Linked DNA regions of Homo sapiens: region 2 is linked to region 1. The links are contacts of gene promoters, found by promoter capture Hi-C in blood cells and fetal thymus (Javierre and others, 2016). All regions are on one chromosome and are shown on one strand. The core of a region is centred on a gene start or on the middle of the fragment in contact, and the rest is flanking DNA. Distances in the headings are between cores, read along the strand shown.

Region 1 (5,217 bases), core at 1,534-4,033:
GGGGTCCCTGGTATGTGGTGAGAGAGTGTAGGACATTGTGGCTGATGGGAGGGAAGAGGGCATTATTTTATATGCCCTCTTTAGATTTGTTACCCAAATCATCTCGAGCTGTAGTTGCCAGTCCTGACCTGGGGGCCTATTCCTCCAGGAATTCTTATGGAGAGAACACTGGGCCTGCTCCTTGCCCATTTGTCTATGATAATGAAGATAAGGAAATGTAGATCCAAAGAAGTTTAAAAATAACTTATTTAAAAATCTCAGCAAGGTTTACAGTGAGCTACGATCCCACCACTGCACTGCAGCCTGGGCATCAGAGCAAGATCCTGTCTCTTAAAAAAAAAAACAAATCGCAGCCAGAAAATGGTGGAGCTAGCTTTTGAAGCCATATCTGAGTTAACTCCAAAGATAAGCTTTCTCGCTTTCTATGTTGCTTTTGCGCCATAAATGAGAGACACACGTTAGCAAAGAAGCATAGGGATACTTTCCAGGCATATGAGTGCAAGAGGCCACCCATGGGAGATGATTGATTTTAAGAGGTATCAGGGGGTTGATCCAGAGCACCTGTGAGCATCTGACAAGAAAGAGGATGAGCATTAGTTTGCCATGGCTGTCTTTAGCCTTGCATGTGGACAAAGCCCCAAGTGATATTTCTGCCTGTTCCTAGCAACCATCGAGAAAGAGATGCGGAAGCTATTCAACATCCCTGCGGAGCGTGAAACACGGCTCTGGAACAAATACATGAGCAACACCTACGAGCAGTTGAGCAAGCTAGACAACACTGTCCAGGATGCTGGGCTATACCAGGGTCAGGTAGGAGGGCCCTGGCCATTCCCCAGCAGGTAGCTCTGCCCAGGGTGTGTGGCCAGATACTTTTTGCTTCTAAGCATGTTGGAAGTGCGGTGGTTTGAACTCTCCTCATTTGGTTTCCCCTTTCACTCAGGTGCTAGTAATTGAGCCTCAAAATGAAGATGGCACATGGCCCAGGCAGACCTTGCAGTCAAAGTAAGTGAATTTTTTCTCCCTTGTTGTAGGCTCACATGTGCAAAAGAGACAGTCTTTCCTAAGGCAGTACTTGTACTAAGAAAAATTGTTCTGATTCAGATGAACAATGCCTATTTTGTATATCCAGAGTTCATGCTTCTGGATGAAGACCGTGGCTTTTGGTAGCAGGGCAGCATCTAAGGGAAGCCTGTCAGGATATCTCAGCAAGGTGGCGAGCCTCTGCTCGTGGAGAATGAGAAAAGGAGGAAGGGATATGAGGGATCAAGTCTAAGGTTGCTGCTCTACCAGGAGGTTGCTTTGTTTTTGTCACGCTTTTATTTTCTCCACATGTAGTTAGAGGCCTTGATGGATAAGAGGAAGGCTAAGGCATGGGGTTTTATATGACTTAAAAGTGATAGTTGAGGCCTGAGCATGGTGGCTCATGCCTGTAAGCTCAGCACTTTGAGAGGCCGTGGGAGGTGGCTCACCTGAGGCCAGGAGTTCGAGCCCAGCCTGGTCAACATGGTAAAACCCTGTCTCTACTAAAAATACAAAAATTAGCTAGGCATGGTGGCAGGTACCTGTAATCTCAGCTACTCGGGAGGCTGAGGCTCAAGAGTCGCTTGAATCCAGGAGGTGAAGGCTGCAGTGAGCTGAGATCGCACCATTATACTCCAGCCTAGGTGACAGTGCAAGACTCTGACCCAAAAAAAACAAAAACAAAAAAAAAGTGATAGCTTGATTCTACCTGTTTCTGCCCAGTGGCCTGTTACTCATTGTTGCCCTGGGAGCTTGCTGGGTGAATTGTTCAGCTACAAAACTTGGACTAAGGACACATCTGTTTCAAGAGATGTTCATGTGGTATGTGGAACTGTGCATGTTCTTAGGGAGATAAAGAAGTGATTAATTTTCGTTATGGTATAAGTTTTGGAAATTATATCTGTGTTCCAGTAGTTATGGGAATAATGTTGCGCTCTGTCCTTTTCCCTCTGTCAGGCCTTGGACTGTGACCATTACATAGTAGTGGGCTCCTAGGTCATTTGAGAACCATGAAAACTATGAGTTCTTAAGAGAAGAACTGTTAGAACCCCTGAAGTCCAGTCATGGACTCCAGTTTAAGAAACCCCGGTTGCCAGTTGTTGACAAGATAAATAAAATAGCTGTGGTAGGCATAGCTGTGCTCATCTTCACCCTGAGATATCCATATCCTAATTCCCAGAATCTGTTTCAGAATCTGTCATTATGTCAGGTGACATGGCAAAAGGGACTTTGCAGATGGGATTAAGCACAATGGTGAGTGCCTGTAGTCCCAGCTACCTGACAGGCTGAGGTGGGAGCATTGCTTGAGTCCAGGAGTTTGAGGCTGCAGTGAGCTATGATTCTGCCATTGCCCTCCAGCCTGGGCGACAGCAAGACCCCATCTCTTTTTTTTTTTTTTTTTTTTTTTTTTTAAAAAGGCCAGGAGCAGTGGCTCATGCCTGTAATCCCAGCACTTTGGGAGGCCGAGGTGGGCGGCTCACCTGAGGTTGAGAGTTTGAGACCAGCCTGACCAACATGGAGAAACCCTGTCTCTACTAAAAATGCAAAATTAGCCAGGCGTGGTGGTGCATATCTGTAATTTCAGCTACTTGGGAGGCTGAGGCAGGAGAATCGCTTGAACCCGGGAGGCGGAGGTTGCAGGGAACTGAGATTGCACCATTGCACTCTAGCCTGGGGAACAAGAGCGAAACTCCATCTCAAAAAAAAAAGAATGTCTGTTCACCAGTGAGTGAAGACAAGCCATAAGCCATACAGTGAGAGAAGAGATTTGTAATCCATGTCTGACAAGTTGTGTCCAGAATTTTTTTTTCTTTTTTTTTTTTCCCTGTGACGGAGTCTTACTCTCTTGCCAAGGTTGGAGTGCAATGGTGCGATCTCAGCTCACTGCACCCCCACTCCCGGGTTCAAGTGACTGATGCCTCAGCCTCCCGAGCAGCTGGGACTACAAGCTCCCACCACCATGCCCAGCTAATTTTTGTATTTTTAGTAGAGACAGGGTTTTACCATGTTGGCCAGGCTGGTCTTGAACTCCTGGCCTGTAGTTATCTGCCTGCCTTAGCCTCCCAAAGTGCTGGATTACAGGCATGAGCCACCACAGCTGGTCGTATATCTAGAGTTGCAAAGAAATTCCTACTAGTCAATACAAACAAGTCAGGCAACACTAGTAAAAAAAAGAGGCAAAAATGTAGAATTATATGCACATTCTGCTACTCAACAATCCTGTTGTTAGGCATATAACCAATAGAAATATATCCCATGTTCTCTTAAATACATATTTCAGGATGTTTGTGCTAGCACTGCTTGTCATAGTTACAAACTGGAGCTAACCCAAATGTCCATCAAAAGTAAATGGATAAACTGCAGTAAGTGTAAGCACACAAGGAAATTCTGTCCAGCTTTGCACAACAGTGATGAGTCTAATGAAAAATGATGAATGAGAGAAGGTAGACACAGAGCAGGGCATAATGATTCTGTTGACTTAAAACTTTATAACAGGCAAAATTAACCTTGGGGATTCATGGTCAGAACTGGTTAGTGTTGGGAAGAATTGCGACTGAATCGTGAGAAGGACACCTAGGGGTCTGGGGGTGTCCTGTTTCTTGGTCAGGGTAGTGGTTACATGGATGTATCACTTGGTGCAAATTTCTTGATTTTATACACTCAGGGGTTTTGTTTTTTTGTTTTTTTAATAGACGGAGTCTTGATCTGTAGCCCAGGCTGGAGTCCAGTGGCATGATCTCGGTTCACTGTAACCTCTGCCTCCTGGGTTCAAGCAATTCTGTGCCTCAGCCTCCTGAGTAGCTGGGATTACAGGTGCATGCCACCCATGCACAGCCAATTTTTGTATTTTTAGTAGAGACGGGGTTTCACCATGTTGGCCAGGCTGGTCTCGAACTTCTAGCCTCAAGTGATCCGCCTGCCTCGGCCTCCCAAAATGCTGGGATTACAGGCATAAGCCACGGCGCCCGGCCAAAAAAAATCAATAATAGGCCAGGTGCGGTGGCTGGCCAACATGCTGAAACCCCATCTCTTAAAAAATAGAAGAAAATTAGCCCGGTGCAGTGGCACATGCCTGTAATCGTAGCTACTGGGGAGGCTGAGGCATGAGAATGGTGGTGGGGATTGCAGTGAGCCTAGATCGTGCCACTGCACTCCAGCTTGGGCGATACAGTGAGACTCTGTCTCAGGAGAAAAAAAAAAAAAAGGTACAATAATAATCAAGGTTTAAGAAAGCAACTAGTATCTATAATATTCCAGAGATAAATTCTGGGTAATTCCAACATAGGTGAGGAATTAGTATAGAGCAGAGAGAGATGAGAATGTCCAGAACTACTATTCTTGAGGATGAGAAAGGTGAACAATTGTAAGTTTATGTAATTTATGGGGAAAAATAAAAATAGAGATCCTAATAAGTTAATGGAACAACTAACAGAAACGGAAAATTGAATGTATAACTTTGAAACATACTACGTCAGTTAGGAAAGGCTTGCTGGCAGGTAAGAAAAATCTGCAAATTAGCGTATTAAGCAAGATGGAGGCTTACATCTTTCTGAAAAGAATTTCTGACGTAGGCAGTCAATCCATTGCTGACGTAGCAGCTCCATGGCAATATTAAACCCAGCTGACCTACCCCTTCCTTTTTAGGACATTTCTCAGATATCATACATCAAACCTCCTTTGTATCTCATTGGCTAATCATATGACAATACCTGGCTTTCAGGAAGGCTGGGATGTACTGTATAGCAGGACTGCATCATGTCCAGCTAAAAACTGGGGTTCTCAAACTAAGGAAGGAGGGGAAAATAGCTAGCAGGAGGCGACTAGCAAACTGCCACACCTGCAAAAGGAAAATTAATGGAAGGCAAAAATGAAGGGGGGAAAAAATAAGAAGTATGGTAATTAGAAAGCATGTTAGAACATGTGGAAAAAGGGGGAAAAAAAAGAAACCTGAAATAAGGAGGCTGAATTAAATTCAGTGAAGTCTAATAACAGCATTAGAATCACTGTAGATGAGTTAAATTTACCAAACTAAAGACAAACTCTCAGATCAGACTTTAAAAGACAAACCACACCAGGGATACAGTGGTATGTGCCTATAGTCCTAGCTACTCAGAAGGCTGAGGGAGGAAGCTTGCTTGAGCCCAGGAGTTCGAAGTTACCGTGAGCCACGATTGCATCATTGCACTCCAGCCTGGA
Region 2 (5,217 bases), core at 2,718-5,217, 220 kb after region 1:
GCTACTTCCTGTACTTAAAAGTGTTAATAAAACCAGACTATTCAGGCCCAATCTCGTCTCTCTGTCTCAACGCCGCTGCTGTCTGCGCCTGCCTTGGGACCCTCCCTTGGGTGCCAGGGCTCCAAGCCAGCACCCCCGGGATGCCAGGCGGCATGCTGGGCAGCCCCCAACCCCTGTCCTCGTATTCTGTTGCAGGGACTAGGCCCTGGCCAGGCCCCCGAGGTGGCCCCCACGCGGACAGCCCCTGAACGCTTCGCCCCCCCTGTGGATCGGCCAGCCCCCACCTACAGCAACATGGAGGAGGTGGATTAGCAGGTCCCTGGCTGATGGGGGGGACTGGGTTTGGGACACCCACACAGAGGGCCAGCTCCTTGCCGCTTCTCCTTCTCTAACCCAGAGGACACTGGCTCTGTCAATGGGAAGCTGAGGGGTATGATTTGGGTGTGGAGACCTCTCAGGTTGGGACTTCTTGTCAGCTTGGACCCCTGACCAGTGGGCTTTGGCTTCTCCAGCCGCCTCCAGTGCTGCGTGATTTGATTCTGTTGTACCTTCAATTCTTCTGACCCGCATTATAAACATTATAATTTTATTCTAAAAATTGTAATTTTTTTTGCATTTTGGAAGTGACTGCTGCTGTTTAAATATATTTTAAAAATAAATAATAAGTAAGTAGACTTAGTGACTGTGATCCACCACATGCTGGGGCCACCTCCCCTCCCCATCATTTGCGGTGTGTATGTGTGTGTATGTGTGTTTATATATGAGAGACCCTGAAAGTGCCCTAGTCTGAAGGGAGATGATGGGGTCCCAGCTCATGTCCTATGGGTCATGAAGCCCCCAGTGCTATCAGCTTTTTGGAGCCTACCTGCTGCTCTTTCATCCCACTGGTTCTGGATCCTACATAAGAGGCAGCTTGGTAGGCATCGTCAGGATCTCAATATAGCCAAGGGACAGAGGAGTATATGAAGCACTGGAGCTGACAGCGTGGAGTAAAAGGTGCATTCACCAGAGCAGCCTGGGGCTGACAAGTCAGGGAGGACTTGGGGGACAGAAGTACTGGGAGATCTTCCTCCTCCTCTCCTGTCCTCAGCTTTTTCTTTGCTGTAACTTGAACACTAACTGCATCCCTGCAGGTAACAGAGCAGGAGGAAAACTGCTGTGGGGCAGATCTTGCTGCCCTGAAAAGAGGACAAGCAGAGAGGACCAGAGTGAATCTTGTCTGACTTCTATTGGAGGGAGGGTGCTGGGGCCTGCCAGCCTGAAGAGTCTTCCCTTAAGAGTTCCTGAAGCCTTCCTTCTTTGGCCAGGCATGGTGGCTCACACTTGTAATCCCCGCACTTTGAGAGGCCGAGGCGAGTGGGTCATGAGGTCAGGAGTTCGAGACCAGCCTGGCCAAGATGGTGAAACCCCGTCTCTACTAAAAATACAAAAATTAGGTGCAGTGGCGGGCACCTGTAATCCCAGCTACTTGGGAGGCTGAGGCAGGAGAATCGCTTGAACCTGGGAGGCGGAGGTTGCAGGGAGCCGAGATCGCGCCACTGCACTCTAGCCTGGGCGACAGAGCAAGACTCCGTCTCAAAAAAAAAAAAAAAAAAAAAAGTTGCTGAAACTGGCCAAGTGTGGTGGCTTATGCCTGTAATCCCAGCACTTTGGGGCGAGGTGGGAGGATAGCTTGAGCCTAGGAGTTCAGGACCAGCCTGGGCAACATAGTGAGACCCTGTCTTTACCAAAAATATAAAAATTAGCTGGCTCTTATGGTATGCACTTGTAGTCCCAAATATTTCAGAGGCTGAGATGGGAGGATCGTTTGAGCCCAGGAGGTTGCTGGACCCTACCTCTGTCCATTCCACGACTGGGCCTTGCTGGCTGCTGCCTGGTTTTTCCACTTGGTCATCTTTGTCTTGACTTTTCCTGGAAGCAGTGCCAGGGGCTTATGCAGGCAAGCTAACCTCCAGACTGGGCCCATACAATTTAACATTTCTGCTTTGTGCAAGTCGTAGACATCTAGGGCACTAGCTGGATATCGACTGGTATGCTACCACTTGTGGCATTCTTGGTGACACTGGTGGGGCTACTGCCTCATTCTATGACTTGTAGCCATGGCGTCCACAGTGTACCATGAAGTAACCAGGGAAGGGAGTGCAGATCTTGATCTCATTGAGGGAGCCATCACTAGACCTGTAGGACTTGGTGATGGTGCTACAGTGAATCTATTGGCAGCATCAGGTACTGAGGAAATAGTGGCAGTGGCAGGCACTCTGCATGGCTTTGCTCACCATGGGCACCTTTATGGTGGGCTGGGTACTTGCAGCTTCAAATTTGGTGCACGGCTGGTGTGGCTATGGCTCTGCTTCTTGGTACCTGTCCTTAGCACCACTGGTCTGCATCCCCTGCTTAATTCCTGCACCTGGCCTTTCTCATGCAGTACACTGCAGGGCTAGGCATCTGGCTGGGGCCACGGGGCCATGGAGATGTGGGAAGCCCCAGGACAGCATTGGACCTGGATAGCGATACAGCATGTGGCCCTGGTCTGCACCTGGCATGTGATCATTAGGTGGTATCCAGATGTAGGCCCAGACTTGGAGGTTGGTCATTAATAATGGGATGTGGGCACAAAAGACACAGAATATAGATAAAGACTAGTCAGGATCCTGCCTATTCCTTGAAGGTCCAGAAGTATGAGCATCACCAATTCCTGCAAGAGCTCCAATCTCAAATGTGGGGATTTCCACCATCCCACCACCAGCTGCTCATTCTCTGCAACCCCCTACCTCAGTCCCTTACTACCTTAGTCCCTTTTCTCACACACACACAAAGTCTCTGTTCTGTTTCAGCCAGCAGGTCCTGGAAGTCCAGTGAGACTGTGGAAAGATCCCCAAGCACAACAGCTATAATCATGAAGCTATAACCATCTCATTTGTCCCACCCTCTCACAAGCTCAATAAAATATCCTCTCAAAGGCCTGCAGAGGGATTTCAAGGTCTAATTTGCTTGTGGTTTTCCTGATAATGCTTTGGCAAGAGGGTAAGTGTGGGATGAGATTTTTTTTTCTTTTCTTTTTTTTTTTTTGAGACAGTCTTACTCTGTTGACCAGGCTGGAGTGCAGTGGCACAATCTCGGCTCACTGCAACTTCCGCCTCCCAGGTTCAAGCGATTCTCCAGCCTCAGCCTCCTGAGTAGCTGGGATTACAGGCGTGCGCCATCACGCCCGGCTAATTTTTGTATTTTTAGTAGAGACAGGGTTTCACCATGTTGGCGAGGCTGATCTCGAACTCCTGGCCTCAAGTGATCCGCCCGCCTCGGCCTCCCAAAGTGCTGGGATTAAAGGCCTGAGCCACTGCGCCCGGCCAAGATTTTAAACCAAATCATCATAGAACTTATGTGAGGTCCCTCCTGGCCCAGACCCGTCCCTTCCCTTTCCTGGCCAGCTGTGTCCAAGTGGGCACCTGAAAACCGGCGGACTTATGGGGCCCCTGGATCGGTCATTCCACACATTCTCTACGATGGAGTCTGGATGAGGGATTTCCTGGGCTTCATTTGTTCAACTGTTTCCATGACAACTCCAAAGCTGTGGCGTCAAAAGCGTGACAGGGACTCGCATTTGCCCCCGAGGACAATTACTATATTGAGATGGAGTTACCAGGGCTGAAGTAGAAAAGTCAGAGCAAAACCACGCCTGTGTCTTCCTCCTGCCTCAGGGACGAACACCTTCCTTCCAGGTCCGTGGCAAATATCTCCAAAAGCCCTGCCGCCTGCCAACACCCCTTCAAGTTCCCAGTTCCACGGAGGCGGAAGCAAAGCCCCCGGAAAGGCCGGTTTGTCCGCCCTGTGTTGTTTAAAGGGGATAGACGACCTTGGAGCGCCCCGCCCCCTCCCGCCAAGGAAGGACCCCATTGGCTCTCCCCGGAGGCTTCACTCTCATTGGTCAGCGAGTGAATGCCGACCTGCAGACTGGGGCCTAAGTTTCTTTTAGTTTCCGGTGTCTCTGCAATGGCGGCTCTAGACTCCCTGTCGCTCTTCACTAGCCTCGGCCTGAGCGAGCAGAAGGCCCGCGAGACGCTCAAGAACTCGGCTCTGAGCGCGCAGCTGCGCGAGGCCGCTACTCAGGTGCGAGCCCCTCTGCCCCCGGCCTGGTTTGCAGACCATGCTGCAACGCAGCGCGGGGCGGGGTCCAGATCCCGACCTGCCCCGTTTGTCCCGCCCTTTCCTCTCACTGAGCGCGGGGCTTCTCTCTTGACCCCTCTGACCTCAGGCTCAGCAGACCCTGGGTTCCACCATTGACAAAGCTACCGGGATCCTGTTATATGGCTTGGCCTCCCGACTCAGGGATACCCGGCGTCTCTCCTTCCTTGTAAGCTACATAGCCAGTAAGAAGATCCACACTGAGCCCCAGCTAAGCGGTGAGACCCCTACCTGTCCTGCCAGTTCGCACCAATGCCTCCCTTCAGCCAAGACCCCTGTCTTCCCTTTTTGCCAAGTCCTCCAGTTTCTTTCTAGACACCTAGTTCTGCACAGGCACTGAGGCATGGAAGGGGTGGCCTATGGTGAGACTGACACGGGAACTGTCAGGGTCTGAGGGGGGATCCACTCTCGACACGTGCTTCTTTCTTCCCTGTGTTCTCTAGGGTGGTGGTGCCAGGGCTTAACTTTTCAGGAGGCCAGACTATCCTTGGAGTTTCATGAGATTAGGACCCTGTCTGTCCACTTCTTGGAGCAGAGATGCCACAAACTCACGGGCTCTTTCTTCTCAGCTGCCCTTGAGTATGTGCGGAGTCACCCCTTGGACCCCATCGACACTGTGGACTTCGAGCGGGAATGTGGCGTGGGTGTCATTGTGACCCCAGAGCAGATTGAGGAGGCTGTGAGTCTTTCCCCAGGCATCGTCTGCCTCCCCAGTCCTGGCCATGGAAAGGAGTGGCTCAGTTTCCCTCCTCAGGAAGACCCAGAGTGAGGGTGTGGGTTCCCAGAATATCTCTAAAGGTGGCTTTCCTGAACCACATGGTTTGGCTTTCTGCAGGTGGAGGCTGCTATTAACAGGCACCGGCCCCAGCTCCTGGTGGAACGTTACCATTTCAACATGGGGCTGCTGATGGGTGAGCAGGGCCTGGAACGGGGCTATATTGTTCTCTCTGGTCATGCCTTTTCTTCTGGGCACGAGTGAGAAGGAGGTGGGGGAAGGAACAGGAGTGACTTAAAGTGGTCTGGCTGGGCTCAGGC

Evidence for each region. The method cuts DNA at HindIII sites, captures the fragments that hold promoters and counts their contacts. A CHiCAGO score of 5 or more calls a contact.
Region 2: a contact is called between the fragment with the promoter of QARS1 here and a fragment that was not itself captured in region 1, in 2 of 17 cell types (erythroblasts and endothelial precursors). The highest score is 5.3, in erythroblasts.

Annotation. Positions count from the first base shown.
Region 1 is chr3:49,320,487-49,325,703 of GRCh38, reverse strand. USP4 (ubiquitin specific peptidase 4) reads left to right here. Exons shown (of 22, transcript NM_003363.4): 5 at 665-810; 6 at 941-1,002. Among named protein-coding and RNA genes, the nearest start is that of USP4, 17 kb to the left of the region's middle. The HindIII fragment of the contact is 4,741 bases long and covers 413-5,153 here.
Region 2 is chr3:49,103,507-49,108,723 of GRCh38, reverse strand. QARS1 (glutaminyl-tRNA synthetase 1) reads left to right here and starts at 3,967. Exons shown (of 24, transcript NM_005051.3): 1 at 3,967-4,107; 2 at 4,253-4,400; 3 at 4,752-4,861; 4 at 5,018-5,093. The coding sequence starts at 3,991. USP19 (ubiquitin specific peptidase 19) reads left to right here. Exons shown (of 27, transcript NM_001199161.2): 27 at 196-674. The coding sequence ends at 312. RefSeq lists enhancers at 2,793-3,442, 3,636-3,795, 4,006-4,195, 4,745-5,217. The HindIII fragment of the contact is 7,394 bases long and covers 1-5,217 here.